3 separate regions of the Homo sapiens genome follow, and regions 1 and 2 are each linked to region 3. The links are contacts of gene promoters, found by promoter capture Hi-C in blood cells and fetal thymus (Javierre and others, 2016). All regions are on one chromosome and are shown on one strand. Each heading gives the region's core, a stretch centred on a gene start or on the middle of the fragment in contact. The rest is flanking DNA. Distances are from core to core; before and after follow the strand shown. Region 1 holds the start of NKIRAS1 (NFKB inhibitor interacting Ras like 1). Region 2 overlaps UBP1 (upstream binding protein 1). Region 3 holds the start of GBE1 (1,4-alpha-glucan branching enzyme 1).

Region 1 (4,595 bases), core at 104-2,603, about 58 Mb after region 3:
CAGTAAGTTAATGCTATCTAATAGAAAAAAATAAAACACATCCCAGTCTTTTTCAATGCACCTTAGGCTACTCACACAGGGAGGCACACTGTTTATTTTGCTTTAGTCTGAACTCATTCAGATTTGTAACCTTTGACACACTTGCCACTTTAGACAACAGTGCATACAGTAACTGACCAGTGTTGCTAGCTTTTTTCTGCCAAAGCCCTATGCGAAGAAAGACACTGAGGCAGCAGTGTCTTCCTAACAGCTGGTTTCCAACTTTTCTCGAATATAATTTTATCCAAGCATCCACGCAGTCGATCACGTACCTTGCTTGGCCTTGTAGCCCAGTCGGCGCGCTTTATCAGGCCGGGTGGGGCGGGGAGCCCTGTGGAGAGCAGAGAGCTGGCGGTACTGCCAGCAGCGGACCCTCAGAAGAAAGCGCATGACATCAGACTGCTTCTTTCTCCATAGCTCCTGGATGTACTTGTATGCACCCATCTTGGCTTACCTGTGAAATCAAACTGTGTATTAAATATCATCCGCTTTAAGTACAATAAGACGACTGTATCCGTCCATCTTAGTTCCCCAACAAAAACAAGGAAACCGCCGGGAATGAAAATGGCTCTGCACCAACTGCCGGGGACAGCTAGCCCAACCCCCACCACTGCGCCCACGGAGCCGCGTTCAGTCACTTCCGCAACCCCAGCACAGAGCGGTGCTCGGCACGTTTTGGTGGGGCGAATTAACAGAACCAGAACTGAGCACCAAGGGGGCGGGTGGCTGCGGCAGGCGGCGTCCCCAAGGAGGACCTGAAAGGAGATGCCGCTGACATCACAGGACAAGGTACTGCTGCGGCCACCGAGGATTAACTCTCGAGGAAAATGCATCTACCCCACCCAACCAGCAGCCTCACTTTAGGCTGCCTTGTCCCGGGCGCCCCATTCGTCAGCCCCACGCCTCCTCCAGGATCCGGGCCCAGCTCGAATTCGCGCCGCCATCACATCTTCGCTCAACCCGCCCCGGGGGCCGCCTCTCCACCCCTTTGCTGTCCCGCATCCTGACCAAACTCTGGCCGCACAGGAGGGAGACCTATCTCCGAGGACGCAGGGTCCCCGGACCTGGATGGCTGAAGAGGAAGACGATCAAAGGCGGATGGAAGAGCAAAGATCCTCAACGCAGCCTACCTGATGGCTGCCGCCAGACGGAAAGGAAAGAGCTGTACTCCCACAATGCCTTTTGGGCTCCTCCCCCACCTCAGCCACCCTCTTTCCGGTGGAAAGCTGCGGCCTCCCAGAGCGTCATGGGACATGTAGTTCCGGCATCGCGCCTGGTGGCGGAGTTCTGCCGAGTGGGGCGCCGCGGCCGCTATTGTCCCGCCCCCTGCTCCGCAAGATTCGAGCCTGAGCGGCCTGGGCGTCTCGAGAGGTGAGAGAGTTGGCGGCGAGGTCTCGGCGGCTAAGCGAGCGTCGGCGACTGTCTCTCCGCGAGAGGAGGCAAGTTGGGGTCCAGGCTCCAAAGCCGGTGGCCGCGTACCGCGGTGGAGCCGCTGTCTTTGAGGTCTGAGGAGAGAACAGGTTTGTTTCACGCACCGCGGGCTCTCCCCCTGCGGAGTCTCTGCGTCTCCGCGTCTCCGCGCTGCGCTGTCCCTCTCTGGCCACCGCACGACGGGCGCAGAAATCTGGGCCCCAGAGCTGCGCTGAGAGATCCCCCGACGCTTCCCCAGCCTCCCAGGGAGGCCTTCGCGGAGTCGGGGCGTCGCGGGTCGGGGCGCTCGCTGTGTCCCTTCAGCTCCAGACTGCGTGAAGCTCCTCCAGCAGGCCCCAGCGCCCAGGGATTTTGTCCTAAAAAAGGGTCATGGAGTGGGTGGATTGCGGGCGGCCCGGCGCTTTTTCTGCATACGGATTTCGTCCCAAATTTGCTAACATGAGAACCACAGTTTTTCAGAAGAGCAGAATGTTTATTTGCCAAGACCTGTTTGGCAGGTGTGAATGTTTTAGAGAAGAAATGCCGAGAAAATGCTGGCATTTTGCGTTGCGGGTTTTTTTTTAAATTGAGAAATAGGTTACTGGCTTACTTTGTTTCTCCAGAATATTTTCACTTGGCTTTAATTTAAGTCATGTGGCTTTAATTTCCTTCCAGATTATGCGTTCAGATGTGGCAAAGGCTTAAGAGAATCATTATCTCTTAATCGTAGCGGTTTTGATTATCTTTTTTCCCACATCATATTTTTCTTTCTTTCTTTTTAAATCACAGCTTTACGTTTTTAAGAGTCTCTATCTGGTTCATTGATTGATTCAACAAATATTTATTAAGTGTCTAATATGTGCCAGGCATAGTTGCTGGGGATGCAGCAGGAAACAACGCAGAATTTTTGGCCTTCTTGGAAATGGGCAGTAAGCAGAAGTAAGCTGTGTTTTGGGTTTGGTGGTAAATGCTAAGGAAAAAAGATAAGGGGAGGGAAGTGATGAGGGAGTGTTAGCGGCTGAGGGTTGCAATTTGGAATGGAGTGTCCAGGTTAAGTCTTTGAGAGAAGGTAACATTTAAGAAAGGACTTCAAGGATAGGAGTCTGGGAGTAAGAGTAGGGGTCTGATTCAGGCAGAGGGAGAAGAGCCATGACTGGAGCATGCAAGATTAATAGAGGAACAGCAGGGAAGCAGTGTGGCTGAAATTCACAGTAGGGGAAAGTGGGAAATGACGTCGGAGAGGTGAAGGTTCTCACATGGACTTTGGATTTCATTGGCAGATTTTGAACAGAAGGATGACTTCATATGGCGTACATTTTAAAAAGATAACTCGGATTGCTCCTTTTGAGGCTAAAAGGAGAGAAAAAATGGAAGCAGAGAGACTGCTTAGGAAATTGTGTTAGTCTTCCATTGCTCCTGTAACAAATTTCAGCAACTTTGTTGGTTAATAATACAAATTTACCGTCTTTTAGTTTGTACATCAGACTAGGTCTGTAAATCTGTAAATATCACCAAGCTAAAACCAAAGTCAGTAGGGCTGTGTTCCTTCTGGAGGTACTAGGGGAGAGTACATTTATTTCCTTGGCTTTTCCACCTTATGAAGCCTGCCTGAATTCCTTGGCTCCTGACTGCTTCCTTCATCTTCACAGCCAGCAAAGGAGCATCTTCCAATTACACCTTCTGTCCTCTCCAGCACTCCTGTGTGTCTCTTATAAAGACACTTGTGATTACACTGGGCCCACCTAGATAATTCAGGATAATATCTTCGTATGGAAGTTCTTAATTTAATCACCCCCGCAAAATTCTTGTATGAGTATGTAAAGTAAACATATTCACAGGTTTGGGGGATTACGATATCTTTGAGAGACCAGGTGAGAGAACATGGTGCCTCACCCAGACCACTTCAGTAGTGATGAAAATGGTAAGTAGTGCAGCCCTGTATGTATTTCAAAGGTGAGGATGACTAAAAAGTTGAATGTGCTACTGTAGGTACGCTGCCTATGGGCGTAGTCCTGCTCCTAAAGGAGCAGTAAAAATAAAATTTAAAAAGTTGGATGAATCATTTGGAAAAACAATTCTAGTAGTGTGAATAATCACTGCTAATTTATCAATCACATTTGCAGTTTTGTTTCTCAATTTGTAGTTTCTCAGTTAACAGTTTTACAAGATTTGGATTTGTGTTTCCAGTTGATTTTGAGATTCCTGAGGACAAGGGATGATTTCTGTTTTTGCCCCCTAGTTTGTCCCTGATGGCTGGCATGATGGCAGGCCCTCAGTAAATGTTTGGTAAATGAATAAAAGAATGGTAAGCTAGAATCTGCTTTATTACATTTTATTTTGTGCAATACTGTGTGCAAAACCTGTTGAATATATTTTTATGTATGTAAATATATTCATATATGGATAAGTGAAAGTATTCCACACTATACATAATGTTGACATAAGTAAATACACAGTGTAGGTGGTTTCCCCACATGACAGTATTTTTAGAGATTTATAACATCTCTCCTATGATGTTAACAGTGTTTTGGTATTGTTTTTCTGGTTGCGTCAGAAAGTTGTGTTTTACTTATAAAAATAGAATGGCCCACTTACATAGAAGAACAGAAGCAATAACGGTTTTGGGGAGCTGTTTCTGATGGCTCTTCAAAGAAAATGTTGACAAAGCATTTCACAGGAATGGACCAGGTCATATATTTACTCTCTGTTTTTTTTTTTTTTTAGCCTCAAGTTGGAGAGAGGAGGTTGTATTTATTCTCTAGCAATGTTATTGATTAGCCTGGAAAGTAAAGCAATAAGTATTTAAGACTGCCCTGAATCTTGCCTATTAAGCACGTTCTCTTAGTAATTTACATCAGGTGAGGTTTAATAGGTCACAGATTGAATTTTATTGCCCAGTTTCTTAGGGTAGGGATGTGACAAGTAGCTGTAACTACTGCTTTTTGTGTTCACCTCAGTGTTGATGTATTCTCTGGATAAGCAACTTCTAATATCATGGCATCACAGTGTTGAAAGGAACCTAAAGGTGACCCATGTACTACAGAGCCTTTCAAATTCTTGAAACCTAGATTTAAGTAAGAGGCTTGGTTACCCCAGGATCGGTTCATGTGATTCAGTGCCCATTCAGGGTACTGCAGATGACCACC
Region 2 (4,814 bases), core at 784-3,283, about 48 Mb after region 3:
TTTTCTGTAATTAAGGCTCAGTTTTGCCTGTAAAGCTGTGTGTCTGCAGCCTGATAGATGAAATAGTATACTTTGTTTTTAAGCCTAAAGGTGCAGACAGGAAACAAAAAACTGACCGAGAGAAGATGGAGAAGAGAACAGCTCATGAAAAAGAAAAGTATCAGCCGTCCTATGATACCACAATCCTCACAGAGGTAATGTAGTAAAGCATTTGGTTTTGGAAGAGAAGCAAAGGTTGCATATTAGTCTATTTCTAAGATGAGTTCTGCTACAAAAGGGTTGGGGAAGATTGGGTGGCAGTTTGACATGTTATTCTCTGTGAAATTTCTGGGGAAAATATTTAAATTTGGGGATTTTGATAGACTGTTTCCTGGGTGGGATCTTAAATGAAGATGCTGAAATCCCAATGAGGTCTTAGAAACAGACCTTAAAAACTTTGAAGTTGGCAAGAGACTTAAGTTGGAGCCTAGAAAGTCCAATTTTTGTCACTGCTGGGGTTTTGCATTTTTTTTAACTTTGAATCCTGTTAGTCATGCATTTGTTTAATTGGACTGAAGAGACATGAAACAGGGTGTTAGATCTTTCTTTGTATAATGAAAAGACATTGATCCCAATCTTTGGTGTTTGTCCAGATGAGGCTTGAGCCTATAATTGAAGATGCAGTTGAACATGAGCAGAAAAAGTCCAGCAAGCGGACTTTGCCAGCAGACTACGGTGATTCTCTGGCAAAGCGAGGCAGTGTAAGGGACTTCTGCTTCTCTTTTCATTGTGCAAGAAACCTTGTGCAGTGTTAGATATAGGACCAACTTCCACCGCAAAGTAAAGCCAAAATTGTTTTTGATGTCCATGTCTTGATTTAATTTGCTTTTGTTTAGACTTCCTGCTTCTGTTTGTTCCTCACTGAGGAAAATTTCCTAAATCTAACACTTTAAAACAAAGCAAAAAACAATGTTGACCATATTGGGTGGTTTTGGAGGGAAAAAAAGACACTCAGAGATATGTATTCCCTCCCTGACTCCTTCCCTTCCTCCTTCCCTCCCTCTCTCCTTCACACACACACCTCCTTCAAGAGCACTGAAATTAATTGAAAATACTTTCTTTAGTAAATTAGCTATTATTTTTGTGTAACTGAAAAGGGTCTTGCTTTCTCATGTGTATACTTGATAAAATTTTGTGGACAGTTAGATGATGGCAGCAAGCTTGACATTAACACGTGCAGTTCTTTGTTACATTTTTCTGCATGTAGTATAAAAATGTGTGTCTGTCTATGCTTCTAAGAGCCTGTTTGGCAGCACTGGTAGAAAAAAAAAAACTCTGATGGGATTCATGTTTCTTCTTGGCAGTTGCATTGTGAATTAATGCTTCAGGCCAAAGTAGTGTACCTTGCTACACCTAGACCTGGGCCGCCCCCAATATGCAGTCAGGGGGCATCTGGTTGAATATGTGCTTTGTCCAGTTAAGTATAGCAAATCTTTATTTTATGACATGACTCTTCATCTATTAGTCCACAAACGATGATCCTGCTTTGCAAACTTAGATCAGCTACATACCTTCAGTAAATATAAACACAGAACATTAAAGAATCATTTAAAATAATTGTCATCATATGTATTCGTGACTGCTGTATTCACTGTTGCAGTCTTTGCACTATTAAAGTACCAGAGGATTTTTCATTCTTACACATATCGCAATTGCTGTGGTTAAATGTAGACTTTGAATGTTACTGTCACAAGCACTATCACAAGAAACTCATTTCCAATTATAGTATCGAATAAAAATGTTTTAATGCTTCTCTATGCAATGAAACTGAAATTGTACTCATCCTAGTGCCACTGGAAGCACACGTTACATTTTCTTTAACTGGGCTTTTTTTTTTTTTTTTAAATAAATTCGAATCAAAGATTGTTAAAACAGCTGTATATTCTTTCCTAAAACACCCGCCCCAGCAATTTTGTTTTTATCCTCTTCTGATTTCTCAGCTGAAGACCCACCAATGGTTCTTAGTAAACTTCTTTGGGGGGGATTCTGGCAACTCACTTTTCCTCTCCTGTTATAAACCATTTAACTAATAAAGAAGTAGGTTCTGGTAATTCCTAAATAAAAGAAATTCATTATAGCCCAGAGGTAATCTGAAGATGGGAAAACTGTTGGTAAATTCTTAATGATTCTTAAGTCTAAAGTATGCAAAACGTCAGCAGTTCACTGGCCTGGGATTTCACATCTTCCTCATGTATTGCTTACTGCCCTGGCTGTATTTGATTTTGTTCAGATGCTTTTAGGGGTGGTTAGAGCTCATCTTGAAAACCTGTTTTTAAAAATGCAGGGTACAGATTGTCACTTAAAAAGGAAAGTTTGCAGAATTTCATATGTTTCTTCAAACTCCTACAAAGGAAGGCCAACATTTCATAGAGTTTTTGGCTAGTTACAATTGGCTTTCAGTAAAAAGGGATATCCAGACTTACTGTTAGAGTCGAAAAGATGCCGAATGAAATGGTGCCACACTGAATAGTCACTACTGTTGGTTACCAGGAGATGCCGTACAACAAAACTCTTAGTGTGTCTGTTGGTCTTCATCTCTGAGCTGTATATGATTGGCTCAAATGATGACTGCCAATTTCTACAGCCTAAAATGGGTGATCATTCTTTACCTGGGGAGGGACTGTGTTCACAGTGTACCGAAACCATAACTATGAGCCCAGGCCAGGCATTGCTAGCGCCGTTATGAATTCAGGAGCATAGGCACTGCACCATCGCTTGCTTTTCGAATGTTAGAAGAATCTAAATATCTAAAAGCAAAATGGGTATTTATGGAGTTTTGGTAAACTTGGTGTTTCTACATTACTCTGCCATGCTAACTTGAAGCTTTTTGATGGCTTCATTTCTTCAAATGGCTGGCAATAATTACAAAAAGTTTAGAGAGACTTGATACTTTTAATATTAAATGGTTTACATTATTTATACATGTATGTTATGCTGTGTTATGTTTTATATGTGCAGGGGGATGTTGTAGCAGGAAAATCTTTCAGATAGTAGAGGTGAGGTGACAGTGTGTGATACCCATGATTAGATTTGCTAGTCAGCTCACAGGGTCTTGGGTTCATCAAACAGTGTAAACTGAGGAGGTGATACTTTGTAAGGTGGAAAGAAAAACAAGGGTCTAGTTTTTTAGTTATTTATTTATTTTTTTGAGATGGGCTTTCACTGTATTGCCAAGGCTGACCTCAATCTCCTCAAGCAGTCCTCCTGCCTCAGACTTCTGAGTAGTTGGACCACAGGTGTGTGTGTGCCATCACACCTGGCTTAAAAGGCCCTAATTTTAAAAGAATGGGCATTGTTGTGTAAAATGTAATTTATAGCAAAGTTGCTATGCCATGCAATAAGTTTATTCAAAGCTCTCCAGCTAAATTAGATTTCTTTTTTGAAAGCTGACTGATAATAGAAGTAATAAGTCTGCAATCATTTTTCTTTTTTAAGGAGATACATAATTGGGTAGTTGAGATTATTTTCCATGTATCCATTGCTTTTGATGGATGTCAGACAAGCGTTTTAAGCCCCTGTAGCCATTGGTGAGACTTAATTTCTGCCCTCAGTGTGCTTCACAGTTTCTTAGCTCCATTACACCAGTGGTCTTGACACTTACCTACTCAAAATAATTTTTAAATTTTTTTAGAGACAGTGTCTTGCCCAGTCACCTGGGCCTGGAGTGCAGTAGTGTGATCAAAGTTCACTGCAACCTCAAACTCCTTGGCTCAAGTGATCCAAGACACTTGAGACAGGTTCTCGCTGTGTTCCTCAGGCTGATCCCCAACTCCTGGCCTCAGAATGATCCTCCCACCTTGGCCTCCGAAAGTGCTGGGATTATAGGCATGAGCCACCATACCTGGCCTCAAAAGAATTTTGAAAAAGGATATACTTGCACCTTTCCAGATTGACATCTGAAAGTTTTCATCATAAAGTTTTTTCATCATAAATTTAAATAGCTGCAAAGGAGGCAATGTTCTGGCGTGGTGGTGATTTGCGTTTACAATTTAAGATAAAACTGTGACATTACTCTTGAAGTGCATCCTATGGAATCTAAATGCCATGGCAGTTTGACCACTGCTATTGTTCATTCAAAAAATTCATTAAATCCAAGATTTTACTCTGTTCTTCCTTCTTGGTCTCATGTTTGTATTTCACTCCCCTTAAATTTTATCCTAATATGACATAGTTTTATGCCTGAAAATCTTTAAAAATTTTTTTCTTATTTATTTTTATTTTTTATTCCTGAGGCTTCAAATGATGAAACTGAAATTTTTAAATGATCACCCTAAAAAAATTGCCTTACAACAAATTTACATAAATTGAAATTTAATTTTTAAAATTTGCTGTGACCATAGCCTCTTAACTCAGTCAAGATATTTAAAACTTATTAGTACCAATTTATCAAAACAACAAATCCTACAGATTTTGATGAATATTTATTACATGTAAAAATAGAAATATTATTGGAAATGCATCTTGAATGATGAGACAGGATAGAATATAACTTCTAGAATTTTATACATATGAGCAATTTTGTTTTTTCTTTCGGTAGTGTCATTCAGGTCCTGGAAGTCCTTTTGAATCATCTGTCAAAAATCCCAGGGACATTTTTATGTGATCTACTAGATTATTTCAATATATGTCAGTTGACAATAGGTCCATCCTCCTGAATTATTTTGATAGCAAATAATTGAAAATCACCTGACTTACAGAAAAACTTAGTCATTAGAGTTATGTACTTTTTCTTTCCTTTTTTTCAAGATGGGGGTCTCACTCTGTTACCCAAGCTG
Region 3 (4,394 bases), core at 640-3,139:
GTTCCAGGAAAGTCAGTGTGACTAGAGCATAGTAAAACTGGAAAATGATGAGAAAAGTGGCTGGAAAGGTAGTCAGGGTCCAGATTATACAAGCCTTGTTAGAGAATGATAAGCTGTTTCTATTTTACCCTAAGTGAAATACTATGCTATTTAAGTTGCTAAATGACATCGTCTGATTTACTCAGTGTAGAGTCTCACCAAACTGTGTCCCCAACCACCAGCATCAGAATCACTTCTGAGCTTGTTAAAAATGCAATCTGAAGCACCACATCGGAACTCAATTAAGATCCCTAGGTGATTCATATGCACATTAAAGTGTGAGAAACACTGGTACAGAGAATGGAGTAGAGGTGAGAAAGAGTAGAAGAGGGGAAGTCAGTTAGAGAGCTACATTCTGGTCCAAGTGAAGGAAAACAGTGGCCTGCATAAGAGTGACAGCAGGAAGGATGAGAAGACGGATTCTAGGTCACGTTTTGCAGACAGTTTGTTTAGGTCTCCTAGCCAGCTAAATGGAAATCTCAGTAGACAGGCAGTGATACAAGCCTGGGTTTCTGAAAAAAGTTTAGGCTTGGAGATGTAGATCTGTGGGTCTGTTATTAATAGTTGTCCTGCTTCGGGTTTTTATTTTTTTTTAATTTTCTTCCTTTTTTAGTGCTTTATATTTTACAAATGTCTGCAGCAGTTTTTTGTCATCTTTATGGAAAACAAGGCACGTCTTAAAGTCGTTCAAGTCCTTCACTTTTTCACACTGAGGTCTGTCTTCATATCCACTTATCTTTCAAGTCTATGAAACCCCTTATAAAAACTTTCCTTTGAAATATTTTAAAATTCAAGGCCCACGGCTGATTAATACTGTTTCTCCTCCATAACCCCTAGGATCCTCCAGTTCTGGGTTTTAACAAGAAAAATATCCTCAATCCTCTCTAGTTTCTAGGTGTAAAGCAGCTTGGACCCTCCTGGGTTTGGTGGGTCCATCTCTCTTGGAGTCCAACTCTGTATTCCTAAAAAGCAATTATTGAAATAGAAGCTAGTCAGTTAATGGCAATAAAAGAAGGGAATTCCAAGTGGGAGCTTCCCAAGCCAAGAGGAAGAGAGGTTTCTTGCCTTATCACTGTAAGTGGCAGAGTGGAGTTCCAATTCAATGATATCATTTGTGTTATCAAAGGTAGTTTAATCGTTGAAAAGCTTGTTAACAATTATAAACACAGGCAAATGCCTTTTCCTTTTTGGCCTTACGGAGAATGAGAAAAGTTCTTCCCATGGCTAAAATTCTTAGCTGTTGGTAATGCAGAAAAGAGTACCAGAACAGCAGAATTCCAACGGTATTCCAGGATTCTGTGTCTTGGTTAATTTTAAATTCACGTGACCTGGCAAACTTAGGAGAGTCCTGGTTGTAAGAGGTATTAACATTTTCAGCAGTAGTACTCTAGCTACACTTGACTGTTCCCCTCTCTGTGAATTTACATGATATGTTTGAAATACTGCCCCTCAAAAGTCTCAGAACTTTGAGAAATACGGTCCTTTCCAAAAAAACCCCTTATGTCCAATTTGAAGGGGTCGCTGTCAGTGGGTGCTTAAGTGGGTAAAGAAAAGCCAAGAATATGTCAGGGTGAGGAAGGCCAAGGCTGAGCGAGGTCAGCTTGGGACCCACCTCCTAGAATGACCTCCGCCAGCAGGAAAAAACCGTTAAGGGGAGGAAAGGGCAGGTCCCTGCGGCCTCCAGGTGCCAGCCGCGTGAGTGGGCGGAGAGGCCTCGGTGCCTCCTACCCGCTCCGGACGTGCGTCCCGGCATCACCCCGGGATCCGCTCCTCCCCGCTGGCGGGGGGAGAAAGGGCAGGAGGCCTTCCGTCCCGGCTATAAAGGGCCCCGGACCGCCGCGGCTCGCCTCGGCTTGCCTCGACACGCCTAGGCGCCCTCCGGCTCCGCCCTAGCCGCCGCGTCCCAGCTAGAGCTCCAGCGCCCGCTCAGGCCCCACTCGACCTCTCGGGCCTCGGCTACTTGGACTGCGGCGGAATATGGCGGCTCCGATGACTCCCGCGGCTCGGCCCGAGGACTACGAGGCGGCGCTCAATGCCGCCCTGGCTGACGTGCCCGAACTGGCCAGACTCCTGGAGATCGACCCGTACTTGAAGCCCTACGCCGTGGACTTCCAGCGCAGGTACCGCCGGAATCCCACCACCCCCACTTAGACAGGCAGCCCGCCTCCCAGGAGCCGTCTCGGGACACGGGCCGCCCCTCGGCCCTCGCGCGCCAACCCCGCCCCAGGCGGGGAGGAACCTGAGTGGGCGGGGCTCGGGGTGACTCGGGTAACCGGGTTCTGTGGCTTCCGTAGTGGCAGGTTTGACAGCGCTGGTGCCCGGAGCGGGCGCTGAAGAAACTTCTTTCCTCATCCCCTTTCCCCTCTGTTCTAATCAGCGGTCTTGCGCCATAGGGTACGTGCTGTGGCTCCAACACTTATTCCCCAGAGTGCTGCTGGGGAGTGACTCACCGCCGCTGCAGGTTTTCTGACTTTGGCACCCACTAGCGTGGGCCTGTGGAGTAACGTGGGCATAACTCCTGGCACGTGTAATTACGCATTTAAAACTTTCTAGTTTATTTCATAGCAAATGTTGTGATTTTATATCTAAGAGGATTCCTTCAGGCAGACACTATATCCTTTTGTTTTTTCCTTGCTAATATTCCTCATTTAGGGGAAGATTACACCTACATTGATCAATTTTTTCTCCCCTTGGATCAACATTGAGAAGTTAAATGTACATCAACATTTGTCCGTGTGTGACTTTAACCATCTTGAAGAGGGAGAAAGGTCAGGAAAGCAACTTTTACAGGCCAATGTCGTTTTAGCTTGTCTTCTACCATTGTGTACCATACAACTTTAGTTACTGGGCTAATAATTCTATTCATAAGTTCCACTAAAAAGGTACAGGTCTTTTTCTGTTGTCGTTGTTGTTTGAAGTAAAAGAGCTATTATACAAGTTGTAATAGTTATACTTGTGAGGTTACCCCATTTTGATTTAATAGTTTCTCCCCTTTTAGGAGAGACACTGCAGAATGGAAACTATCCTGGCAACAGAATATACATGGCCAATTTTTCGAGTGATGGAAAACATCCAACTAGTTAACTGGCATGAAGGAGCGTTGAGAGTAATGAAAATGGGTTGATTTGGAGTTTGAAAAAAGCCCAGCAAATTGTTTGTGTCCTAGCATTTTCAGGTATTAAATGCATTCAAATCAGCAAGTGTTTATTGAGGAACTCCTATAAATAAAACACTGCTCTAGGGATTGTAAGGGATGTGAAGTTTCATTCTTGAGCTTGTATATAGTAGTGAATGAGGCCTCTGTAAAATAATCACCTTGAGCTGTCCCTCACTTAATCAGATGATTATGCTCTTATATAAACCATATGAGGAGCAGCCTTGTGAAATTGTTTTCAGAATTTACAGTATATGCTTTCAGAGAAACTTAGTGCATAATCGTCATAGGTTTAAGGTTGGATTTGATTTAGAAATAGTCAGAAAAAATTTAGAACAAAAGATAGTGATTAAAGGTAGTGGTTAGATTTTTTTTTTGATGTCCTTGTAACCATGACATTAATTTACCTGTGTGCTTTGTAAAAGGACACTTAAGATATTTATTAAAGAAGAGTTGTGGAAATGTTTTATCTACACCCCCTTCCTTTTTTTTTTAAATGACACAAACAGATTAACATTCTTTATTAAGTGTTTCTTTCATGTACTTTATTTCCAACTCCACTGGGATTGAAGCATTTATAATCTTCTTTCATGGTTTGCCAAAACTAATGAAGGGAACAAAGGCCAAGATAAAGAAGGGAAGAGAATCCAGTGTGCTTGGTGAAAAGTCTCGTCCAGTGGGCCCTCATGCCTCACTCTGACCCGGATTTTACTTTTGTCCTTGGTTCTGAGTAATGGCCATTTGCTAGCATACATGTTCCATTTAGGCATATCAAATAGTAATTTGGCATTTGTTAGTGGTAACTTCTATTGTTAACACTTGAAGAATAAAACATTTTTCCTTCATACAATCTGGTCTTAGTTCCTTGTCCAATTTTCCATTTATTTCTGATAATCCATTTGGACTGTGTGTCTTTGGCCTAACACAAATACATAACCAGTCAAACACTTAGGTGCAAAGTATGCTTACTAAGGAGTGAAGAAAATTTGAGGTACAAACAACAGTATATAATTAAGGTGATGAAGAAGGAAATTTCTCTTTGATGGACTGTCTCATCCTTCCCCAACAGATATCTTTTGATTTGAAATTTTTTGGATGTTCCCTTAGGATGTTTTGGATGTTCCTTCCCTTCTTTACCTTGGCCTTTTCCCCTTCTGTATTAGTCCGTTTTCATGCTGCTGATAAAGACATACCTGAGACT

Evidence for each region. Contacts are between HindIII fragments. The CHiCAGO score rates a contact against its expected background, and 5 or more counts as called.
Region 1: a contact is called between the fragment with the promoter of NKIRAS1 here and the fragment with the promoter of GBE1 in region 3, in 1 of 17 cell types (naive CD8 T cells). The highest score is 6.2, in naive CD8 T cells.
Region 2: a contact is called between a fragment that was not itself captured here and the fragment with the promoter of GBE1 in region 3, in 1 of 17 cell types (non-activated CD4 T cells). The highest score is 5.7, in non-activated CD4 T cells.

What each region holds. Positions count from the first base shown.
Region 1 is chr3:23,913,748-23,918,342 of GRCh38, reverse strand. It overlaps NKIRAS1 (NFKB inhibitor interacting Ras like 1), which reads left to right and starts at 1,353. Exons shown (of 5, transcript NM_020345.4): 1 at 1,353-1,559. RPL15 (ribosomal protein L15) reads right to left here and starts at 1,211. Exons shown (of 4, transcript NM_002948.5): 1 at 1,170-1,211; 2 at 312-493. The coding sequence starts at 483. RefSeq lists enhancers at 470-569, 499-1,698, 950-1,749. The HindIII fragment of the contact is 19,179 bases long and covers 1-4,595 here.
Region 2 is chr3:33,404,616-33,409,429 of GRCh38, reverse strand. UBP1 (upstream binding protein 1) reads left to right here. Exons shown (of 16, transcript NM_014517.5): 7 at 84-194; 8 at 633-740. It also overlaps a transcript of FBXL2 not described here. Among named protein-coding and RNA genes, the nearest start is that of UBP1, 33 kb to the left of the region's middle. The HindIII fragment of the contact is 1,663 bases long and covers 1,202-2,864 here.
Region 3 is chr3:81,759,140-81,763,533 of GRCh38, reverse strand. GBE1 (1,4-alpha-glucan branching enzyme 1) reads left to right here and starts at 1,889. Exons shown (of 16, transcript NM_000158.4): 1 at 1,889-2,159. The coding sequence starts at 2,017. RefSeq lists silencers at 1,661-1,760, 2,261-2,340 and enhancers at 1,416-2,024, 1,811-2,100, 2,441-2,610. The HindIII fragment of the contact is 5,689 bases long and covers 1,188-4,394 here.